Regions from separate parts of the Homo sapiens genome. Here regions 1 and 2 are each linked to region 3. The links are contacts of gene promoters, found by promoter capture Hi-C in blood cells and fetal thymus (Javierre and others, 2016). All regions are on one chromosome and are shown on one strand. Each heading gives the region's core, a stretch centred on a gene start or on the middle of the fragment in contact. The rest is flanking DNA. Distances are from core to core; before and after follow the strand shown. Region 1 overlaps LOC124901754 (a long non-coding RNA gene). Region 2 has its middle 170 kb from the start of MIR4468. Region 3 holds the start of SVOPL (SVOP like).

What was found. The method cuts DNA at HindIII sites, captures the fragments that hold promoters and counts their contacts. A CHiCAGO score of 5 or more calls a contact.
Region 1: a contact is called between a fragment that was not itself captured here and the fragment with the promoter of SVOPL in region 3, in 1 of 17 cell types (endothelial precursors). The highest score is 5.1, in endothelial precursors.
Region 2: a fragment that was not itself captured here is called in contact with the fragment with the promoter of SVOPL in region 3 in 1 of 17 cell types (endothelial precursors); the score reaches 6.0 in endothelial precursors.

The regions. Positions count from the first base shown.
Region 1 is chr7:138,215,371-138,218,332 of GRCh38, forward strand. It overlaps LOC124901754 (a long non-coding RNA gene), which reads right to left. Exons shown (of 2, transcript XR_007060555.1): 1 at 1,194-2,962; 2 at 1-352. Among named protein-coding and RNA genes, the nearest start is that of MIR4468, 93 kb to the left of the region's middle. The HindIII fragment of the contact is 158 bases long and covers 1,557-1,714 here.
Region 2 is chr7:138,289,916-138,293,020 of GRCh38, forward strand. No RefSeq gene overlaps it. Among named protein-coding and RNA genes, the nearest start is that of MIR4468, 170 kb to the left of the region's middle. The HindIII fragment of the contact is 1,466 bases long and covers 864-2,329 here.
Region 3 is chr7:138,699,858-138,702,942 of GRCh38, forward strand. SVOPL (SVOP like) reads right to left here and starts at 1,505. Exons shown (of 16, transcript NM_001139456.2): 1 at 1,321-1,505. It also overlaps the pseudogene UQCRFS1P2. The HindIII fragment of the contact is 672 bases long and covers 1,043-1,714 here.

The sequences.
Region 1 (2,962 bases), core at 386-2,885, 480 kb before region 3:
AGCTCTTGTCATTCAGTTTAAAGAGAAACCATTTGACATTCTAGAGATGGCTGCACGCCAACACTTAAAACCTTTGAGATAATGCAGCTCACCAGGGAGACTATTATCATGACTATCGGGAGGATAATACCAAGACCTTGGAGTGTACTCCTTACCCAGGGTTCCCATAAACCAAACCACATAAAATCAAATAGATCAAAGAATGAGCTAAACAGTCTACTCACCTAAATAAGCAATCCCTTCATTAATCCCCTACCACTGAATCTCTATAATCTTCATTTGATGCATTTCTCCATAGGTCACAGTGCCAGCAGCTGCACAGATACTTCCATTCAGCCAATTCTATCATAACCTTTACAAGAGAATTTAAAGTCTTTGAAGTCTGTTGTGTAACTATAGCCTTTACAGTAGAATCTGCTGTACAGCCTATCACGAGGGATAAATTTCTAATCATTGTTTTTACTCCAAACCATGGAAAAAGGACCTAACAAATGATGCCCTTCTAGAAGAGTGAAGGCCTCCTGGCAATGTTCTCTTTAACCCATGATGTGGATTAAGAGGAATGAACCAATGTTCCATTTCTGACTGATTATGAGGTGACATGTACCATTGAAGTTTCTCACCTACAGGCCAGGTGTGGTGGCTCATGCCTGGAATCCCAGCATTTTGGGAGGCCGAGGCGGGTGGATCACAAGGTCAGGAGATCGAGACCATCCTGGCTAACACAGTGAAACCCCATCTCTACTAAAAATACAAAAATTAGCCGGGTGTTATGGCCGGTGCCTGTAGTCCCAGCAACTTGGGAGGCTGAGGTGGGAGGTGGAGCTTGCAGTGAGCCGAGATTGTGCCACTGCACTCCAGCCTGGGCAACAAAGCGAGACTCCATCTCAAAAAAAAAAAAAAAAACAAAAAACTTTCTCACCTACATCGGGCTTTCATCTTTTATCTACCAAAGTATAAGGTTATCCGTGTGTAAGGCTGGCTGCAAAATCCTTCACAAATAAAAGTATGCCGCATAAGTACACACAACAAACCTCTTTTCCATTTCTACTGTTCATAGAGGCATAAACAAGGAAAAAATATTCAAAGAGTCTCATGATAGTGGAGAAGTTTTGATCCATGATGTTGGGACAAGTTGTTCACATCAAGGATGCCATCTTTTTCTGGGGAGAAACTTCCCTGGTTAGCTTTACCTTAAGGGTTCCAATGGGTGTACAGTTCCAAGAGTGTGGAGGGACCCTTTTCATCTGTGAGATTACGAACTCCAAGTTCAAGGTCCCGAAGTTTTGCTGTAGCGTGGATGGCAAGGACAGTCTTTCTCTGATGTTCTCAGAAGATCCAATCTTCCGGTTCTAGACTGTGAAGGGGTTGATTTTCCTCACTCAGTGAACCATAAAAAGCTTTCTTTACCTGGTGAAAATACACTGTAGCATAATAATCTACGGTTACAACATCAACCCTCTTGCATGGGAACGCTTTTATACAGCCAGAAAACGTGCATTGAAAATGACAATTGAAATGTTTAAGTGACCCATCAGGTAGCCAAACGTACCTGAAGCTTTGATTGTCTTCCCAGGAATATGGATTTGAGAAACCAAATATTGGTTATAAAATACTTTAGCAATTTATAAGTCAGCACTCCAGTATAAATTTAATTTGGATCATTTTATCTCTTCCATGATGAGTCATAGAATGCATAACCTTTAATAACAAAAGCTTTAAGGACTCAGGAAGGACAAGGTGGCTATCCTAGTTCTCCATGAGCCTATGCTTAACACTGGACTTATGACCTCTTGAATACCAGTTGTTTCTCCAACTTACGGGCATAGTACTGATAACTAATGGGTTATAATAGGTAATTTGACTTAAGACCATGGAGTTCAAATGACTTTAAATAATGGTAGTTAAAAACACTATTGACAAGGAAATTTGGTTATTTCTGTGGTCTACAGTAACTTAACGTAATAATTAAGATTGATAGAATATACTCAGAATATACTAGAATTTTAGGACTCCCACAAAAATCATTCAGTCGACTGAGAAGAAAAAAACCTTCTTCCAGAAAAACAAGATCCAAGAAGAGAAAAAAAACACAACATAAAGGCCTTTTAAATGTACCTATAGTTAGAATCCACTTTTAATTAAACTGACTTAACCACAGCATTCTTTAAAAAAAAAAATCCTTTAAAATCTCATATTACCCAATTTTAGCCACATGAAGTGGCCAATATTTCTGGCTTTTGAACGTTACCAAAGGTAACCTCCCAGATGCTCAGAGAAGAAAAATTCAAGATGGTTCACAGAGGGGAAAAGAACCAACAAATGGTAAAGGTCACACAGATATCAAACCAGAAAGGAATCATTTCCCAAGCCAGGACTCAACACAGGCCACCACTGTAAAATGGCAAAACCCCAGCTGCTGAGCCACAGCATTGGACAGTCTACACTGTTCCTTTCAGAAGGAGTCTAGAGTAGCTCATTTTGAGCTTGCAAAGGCTTCCAACTACTTAAGACAACTTTTAGAGCTAACTATGACCTCCTAGGGACATAAAACAAGATGGAGACCTCATCCAGTTGTTTTGTTTGTTTCAGGGACCTGCAGCAAAGTTTGTTACTGACCAGGCTACTGGGTTGTCACGAGCAGTGAGCTTATGGGGTCCTAAGCCCATGTTCTATCCTAAGGTACACCTCTTCATGACAGTACAACAGAGAAAGAAAAATTCATAGCACAAAATAACCCAGATTTGCTACAGCTTATGAGTAGCCTCAGAATTTCTTTTCACATTAACCAAAACTTTACAAAGGAGATAAACAGTGATTTTTACCATTCATTCGATTGGTTTGCACAGAGAGAGGTCAGAAGTCCAACTGGTAAGAAATTCTTACCCTTTTGCTGGCATGTCAGATTTCTGGGTTCTCCTTCCCTAGGCAGCCCTAGCAACCCTACTCAACTGTAGGCAAA
Region 2 (3,105 bases), core at 347-2,846, 410 kb before region 3:
AAATAGCCAGTCAGAATTAGCTTAGACTGTGTGGTCCAACCCTAGCCAACAGAGGAAAGACACAGCAGTAGGGACTAGCTGTGTTAGGAATAAGAGCCCCTTCCCCTCACTTGTCCTGTGTGCTCTTGCCACTGCTCCATCCATGAGACACACCCTTCTATAGAAGTAAATTGCCTTGCTGAGAAAACTTTTGCCTAAGTACTATTTTCACTTGGCGACACCAAGCATTTACTTCCAACAACTTTATAGATTGTTAATGATCACATCATACTCCTGGGGCATTCTGAACTCCAAGCCTTTTCTATTCTATTTTTTCTGTTTATTTTTTGAGACTGAGTCTCTGAGTCTCGCTCTGTCACCCAGGCTGGAGGGCAGTGGTGCAATTTCAGCTCACTGCAACCTCTGCCTCCTGGGATCAAGTGATTCTCATGCCTTGGCCTACCAAGTAGCTGGGATTACAGGCGTGCACCACCATACTCGGCTAATTTTTGTGTTTTTAGTGGAGACAGGGTTTCTCCATGTTGCCCAGGCTGGACTCAAGCAATCCACTCACCTCAGCCTAGCTTTCTAGTGCATATAAAAGTTATGTTTACACTATACTGAAGTCTCCTAAGTGTGTAATAGCATTATGTCTAAAAAAAAAAAAAAGTACATATTTTAATTTTACTTTTTTTTTGAGATGGGGTCTCACTCTATGGCTGAGGCTGGAGTGCAGTGGCACAATCTCGGTTCACTACAACCTCTGCCTCTCAGGCTCACGTGATCTTACAGGGACATCACCATGCCCGGCTAATTTTTTGTATTTTTTGTAGAGATAGGGTTTCACCATGTTGCCAGGGCTGGTCTATAACTCCTGGCCTCAAAGCTTGATTTTGGCTCACTGCAGCTGAGCAATCCTCCCACCTCAGCCTCCTGAGTAGCTGGGATTACAAGTGCACATTACCACACCTGGCTAATTTTTGTACTTTTTGTAGGCATAGGGTTTTGTCATGTTACCCAGGCTGGCTTTGAATTCCTGAGCTCAAGCAATCCATCCTCCTTAGCCTCCCAAAGTACCGGGATTGCAAACATGAGCCACCATGCCCAACCTAAAAATGCTTTATTACTAAAGAATGCTAACTATCATCTAAACCTTCAGCCTGTCTTAACCTTTTTGTTGGTGGAGGGTCTTGCCTTGATGTTGATGGCTGCTGACTGATCAGGGTGGTGGTTGCTGAAGGTTGTGGTGGCTATGGCAATTCCTTAAAATAAGACAACAATGAAGTTTGCAGCATCAGTTGACTTCCTTTCACAAAAATCTTCTCTGTAATATGCAGTGATATTTGATAACATTTTATCCACAGTAGAACTTCCTTCAAAATTGGAGGCATTCCTCTCATATTCTGCCATTGCTTTATCAACTAGGGTGATGTAATATTCTAAATCCTTTGATGTCATTTCAACAACGTTCACAGCATCTTCACCAAGAGTAGGTTCCATCTCAAGACACTACTTTTTTTACTTATCCGTAAGAACCAATTCCTTATCCTTTCAAGTCTGATCACGAGACTGCAGCAAATCAGTCACATCTTCAGGCTCCACTTCTAATTTAATTCTTTTACTATTTCCAACCTCATCTACACTGACATACTCCACAGAAGTCTTGAACCTCCCAGAGTCATCTGTAAGGGTTGGCATCAACTTCTTCCTGTTACTATTGATATTCTGATCTCCTCTCATGAATCACAAATGTTATTAATGCCATCTAGAATGGTGAATTCTTTCCAGAAGGTTTTCAATTTACTTTGCCCAGATCCATCAGAGGAATCACTATCTATGACACCTATAGCCTTAACTATTTCTTAAATAGTAAGACTTAAAAGCCTCAAAACAGGCCAGGCACATGGCTCACACCTGTAATACCACCACTTGGGGAGTCTGAGACAGGCAGATCACTTGAGGTCAGGAGTTTGAGACCAGCCTAGCCAACATTGTGAAACCCTGTCTCTATTAAAAATACAAAAATTACCCTGGCATGGTGGCGCATGCCTCTAATCCTAGCTACTCTGCAGGCTGAGGCAGGCGAATCACTTGAACTGGGGAGATGGAGGTTGCAGTGAGTCAAGATCGCGCCACTGCACTCCAGTCTGCGCAACAGAGTGAGTCTCCATCTCAAAAAAAACCCAAAAAACAAAACAAACAAACAAAACAACAACAGAATAACTCCTCGATCCTTGGTCTACAGAATGAATATTGTGTTGCAGGCATAAAAACATAAATCTTGTACATCTCCATCAGAGCTCTTGGGTGACTAGGTACACTGTCAATGAGCAGTCAGATTTTGAAAGGAAGCTTTTATTTTCTGAGTGGTAGGTTTCAATCGTGGACTTAAAATAGTCAGTAAACCATGAGGTAAACAGGTGTGCAGTCGTCCAAGCTTTGTTATTTCATGTATAGAGCACAGGCAGAGTAGATTTAGCATAAATCTTAAGGGCCATAGCATTTTCAGAACGGTCGATGAGCACTGACTTCAACTTAAAGTCACTAGCTATATTAGTCCCTAACAAGAAAGCAAGCCTCTCCTTTGAAGCTTTGAAGCCAGGCATTGACTTCTCCCCTCTAGCTATGAAAGTCCTAGCTGGCATCTTCTTCCAATAGAAGGCTGTGCTTTCTACCTTGAATGTCTGTTGTTTAGTGTAGCCACCTTCATCAGATATCTTAGCTAGATCTTCTGGAAAACTTGCTGCAGCTTCTACATCAGCACCTGCTGCTTCGCCTTGCGCTTTTATTTTGTGAAGATTGGTGTCTTTTATTAAGCTTCATAAACCAACCTTGCTAGCTTCTAACTTTTCCCCAGCAGCTTCTTCATCTCTGTCAGCCTTCATGGGATTGAAGAGGGGTAGGGCCTTCTTCGGGATTAGGCTTTGGCTTAAGGGAATGTTGTGGCTGGTTTGATCTTGTATCCAGACCCCTCAGACTTTCTCCACATCAGCAATAAGGCTGCTATGCTTTCTAATCATTTATGTGTTCACTGGAGTAGAATTTTTAATTCCTTTCAATAACTTTCCCTCTACATTCATAACGTGGCTAAGTGTTTGGCACAAGAGGCCTAGCTTTCTGCCTGTC
Region 3 (3,085 bases), core at 255-2,754:
CTTGAAGATAATCAGGGCCGGGTGGGTCCCCGGTGTCAGGGGAATTTGCCAAGAGGGGGAAGAAACAAACGTACAGGTTTACCTGCAACAGAGAAAGTCCTCATTCCCACCCTATTAGGATACAGAGTTTTCAACAACAGGATTCCTTTGGTGGAGCAAGTTGCAGGGCACAGGGCTGTTGGCAGGAGATTATCAGGATTGTAGCGTTCACATCTGTACCTTGGAAAGGGGCTTACTCTCCAAGTCATTAAAAGGACACTCAAACACAAACTCAAAGTTAGTTAGCATATATATGAAATGTATTTTCTTGGTAGTCTCTAGAGTTTCAGCCAAAAGCTACATGAAGAAAGAAGAGAACAACATGTTTGAGAGATGGAGATGAGGAACATTATTGAGAGATAGAGCTTGCAATCTTAACTCAGCAATGGAATGCTGGAAAGGCTGAATTGACATACTCTGTTCTTTGGTTCCGTATGTCTTTTTTTTTTTTTTTTTTTTTGAGACAGAGTCTTACTCTGTTGCCCAGGCTGGAGTGCCGTGGTGTGATCTTGGCTCACTGCAACCTCTGCCTCCCGGGTTCAAGCGATTCTTCTGCCTCAGCCTCCTGAGTACCTGGGATTACAGGCACCCACCACCATGCATGGCTAATTTTTTTGTATTTTTAGTAGAGACGGGGTTTCACCATCTTGGTCAGGCTGGTCTTGAACTCCTGACCTTGTGATCCACCCACCTCAGCCTCCCAAAGTGCTGGGATTACAGGCGTGAGCCACCGCACCCGGCTGGTTTCCTGTGTCATTCTAAATCCTTTCTAACCCAGTAAGAGGATGGATGGATGGATGGATGGATGGATGGATGGATGGCAGATGGATGATCAGTTAGACCAACTCAGGAAAATAGGGAATAACATGGAAAAGAATGCTTCGCGTCCCTCACTATAAGTTCCTAAAAAGCTACAATGGGAAAGTAATCCATGACCTACCTTCACAAAACCTGGTGAGAAACTGATAGATTGGGGATTTTCCCTGAACTCAGATGGAGTTCAAGCTTCATTAAAACAAATTCTAAAGGACTGATTGACATTTTATTCTATTGTATTTTGTTATACTGATTGTTTTTTAACCAGAAATAATTGGGCCACAGTAGATCTTTTTTAAACTGAGTTTTGTGTGTGATGTGTGATGTAATTTGTTTTGCAATATCCAAGGAAATTTTCATGCTCCATTTGCCTTCGGCCACAAACTAACAGTCAATGCCCCACCCCACCCTCTACAGCAGCAGGAAAAAATAAGTCCAGATCAATGTTGCCCACAAATTTCTCACCTCTGTATATTCCTTGGACAGTCTTCCAATTTCAGGCTCTTTTGCTCCCCTCACCGTGGCCAAGTCTTAGACGGAAATTGGAGCACAGATGGCTTCTCAGGGGTGGCCAGACTTGTGTTCCCAAGACGCCTGGCTCCCTGGTCTTATCCTCTCCTTTCAGGTCGGGTCTCAGATCAGGATTCTTTAAGGGCCAACTTCGCATTCTGGGCAAGTGAATGACACCTAGGGCACACCCTCTTCTCAGCAGCCTGCACTTGATCTCCTTTTAAAGGGGAAATTACATTTCTTGTTAAGACTGAAAGAGGCTGCCGAACTTTGGAGGAAATTACTATGTTGTTCTCAGGACAGCTGGAAGAATTTCTGAAAGAGAAGACCTAGGCAAGGGGCAGAGGGAAGCTTTGCCCTTGCAAACATTTGCTCACAGCCATTGCTTAGAATTAAGGAGCAGGTTCATGCCCATCCTGTCAGCCATATCCTGCAGGGTGGCAGGCATGCTGTAGCCCCTGGTATAGGCCATGGTGCCTGCCACCCTGAAGCTGCCTGTGCTGTACAAGAGCAGCCTTTGCTATGCCAGGAGTCACTGAGTGGCCAGGCCATGAGCCTGTCTTGGGTCAACTCTGTGGGCCTCAATGTCCCTGCTTCTGTTCGTTATTCCCATACAGACATCAATGTGCCTGACTTCCCTGATTACTGTTGCATTGAGATTTTTGATGGGACAAAGTCTTCAAAAGAGGATGGCGAGGCTAGGAAAGGGTTCTCCTATTTGGTAACTGCAACAACTGCTGTGGGTGTCACATATGCTGCCAAGAATGTCATCTCCCAGTTTGTTTCCAGCATCAGTGCTTCTGCTGATGAGTCGGCCGTGTCGAAAATTGCAATCAAGTTATTTGATATTCCAGAAGGCAAGAACATGGCTTTCAAATGGAGAGGCAAATCCCTGTTTGTATGCCACAGAACCAAGAAGGAAATTGACCAAGAACCTGCAGTTGAAGAGTCCCAGCTGAGGGCCCATAGCATGATTTAAGGGCCAGGCACAGTGGCTCATGCCTGTAATTCCAGCACTTTGGAAGGCCGAGGTGGGCAGATCACTTGAGGTCAGGAGCTCAAGACCAGCCTGGCCAACATGGCGAAACCCCATCTCTACTAAAAATACAAAATTAGCCAGGCGTGGTGGCATGTGCCTGTAATCCCAGCTACTCGGGAGGCTGAGGCAGGAAAATCACTTGAACCTGGGAGGCAGAGGTTGCAGTGAGCCGAGATTGCACCATTGCACTCCAGCCTGGGCAACACAGTGAGAATCTGTCTCAAAAAAAAAAAAAAAAAAGAAGAAGAAGAAGAAGTAAAGGATGGGCCGGGAGTGGTGGCTCACACCTGTAATCCAAGCACTTTGGGAGGCCAAGGCGGGTGAATCACTTGAGGTCAGGAGTTCAAGACCAGCCTGGCAAACATGGTGAAACTCCGTCTCTACTAAAAATACAAAAATTAGTCAGGCGTGGTGGTCCATGCCTGTAATCCCAGCTACTCGGGAGAATGAGGCAGGAGAAGTGCTTGAACCTGGGAGGCGGAGGTTGCAGTGAGCCAAGATCGCGCCACTGCACACTCCAGCCTGGGAGAGAGAGTGAGACTCTGTCTGAAAAAAAAAAAAAAAAGATAAAAAAGGAGTAAAGAATGAGTGCAATGCCTATCAGGGTAACCCATTCGAGTTTCTTTACTAGGCGTTTGCATTCATCCTGTTGTACACCTATTGCAAATGAAGATTTTGGTG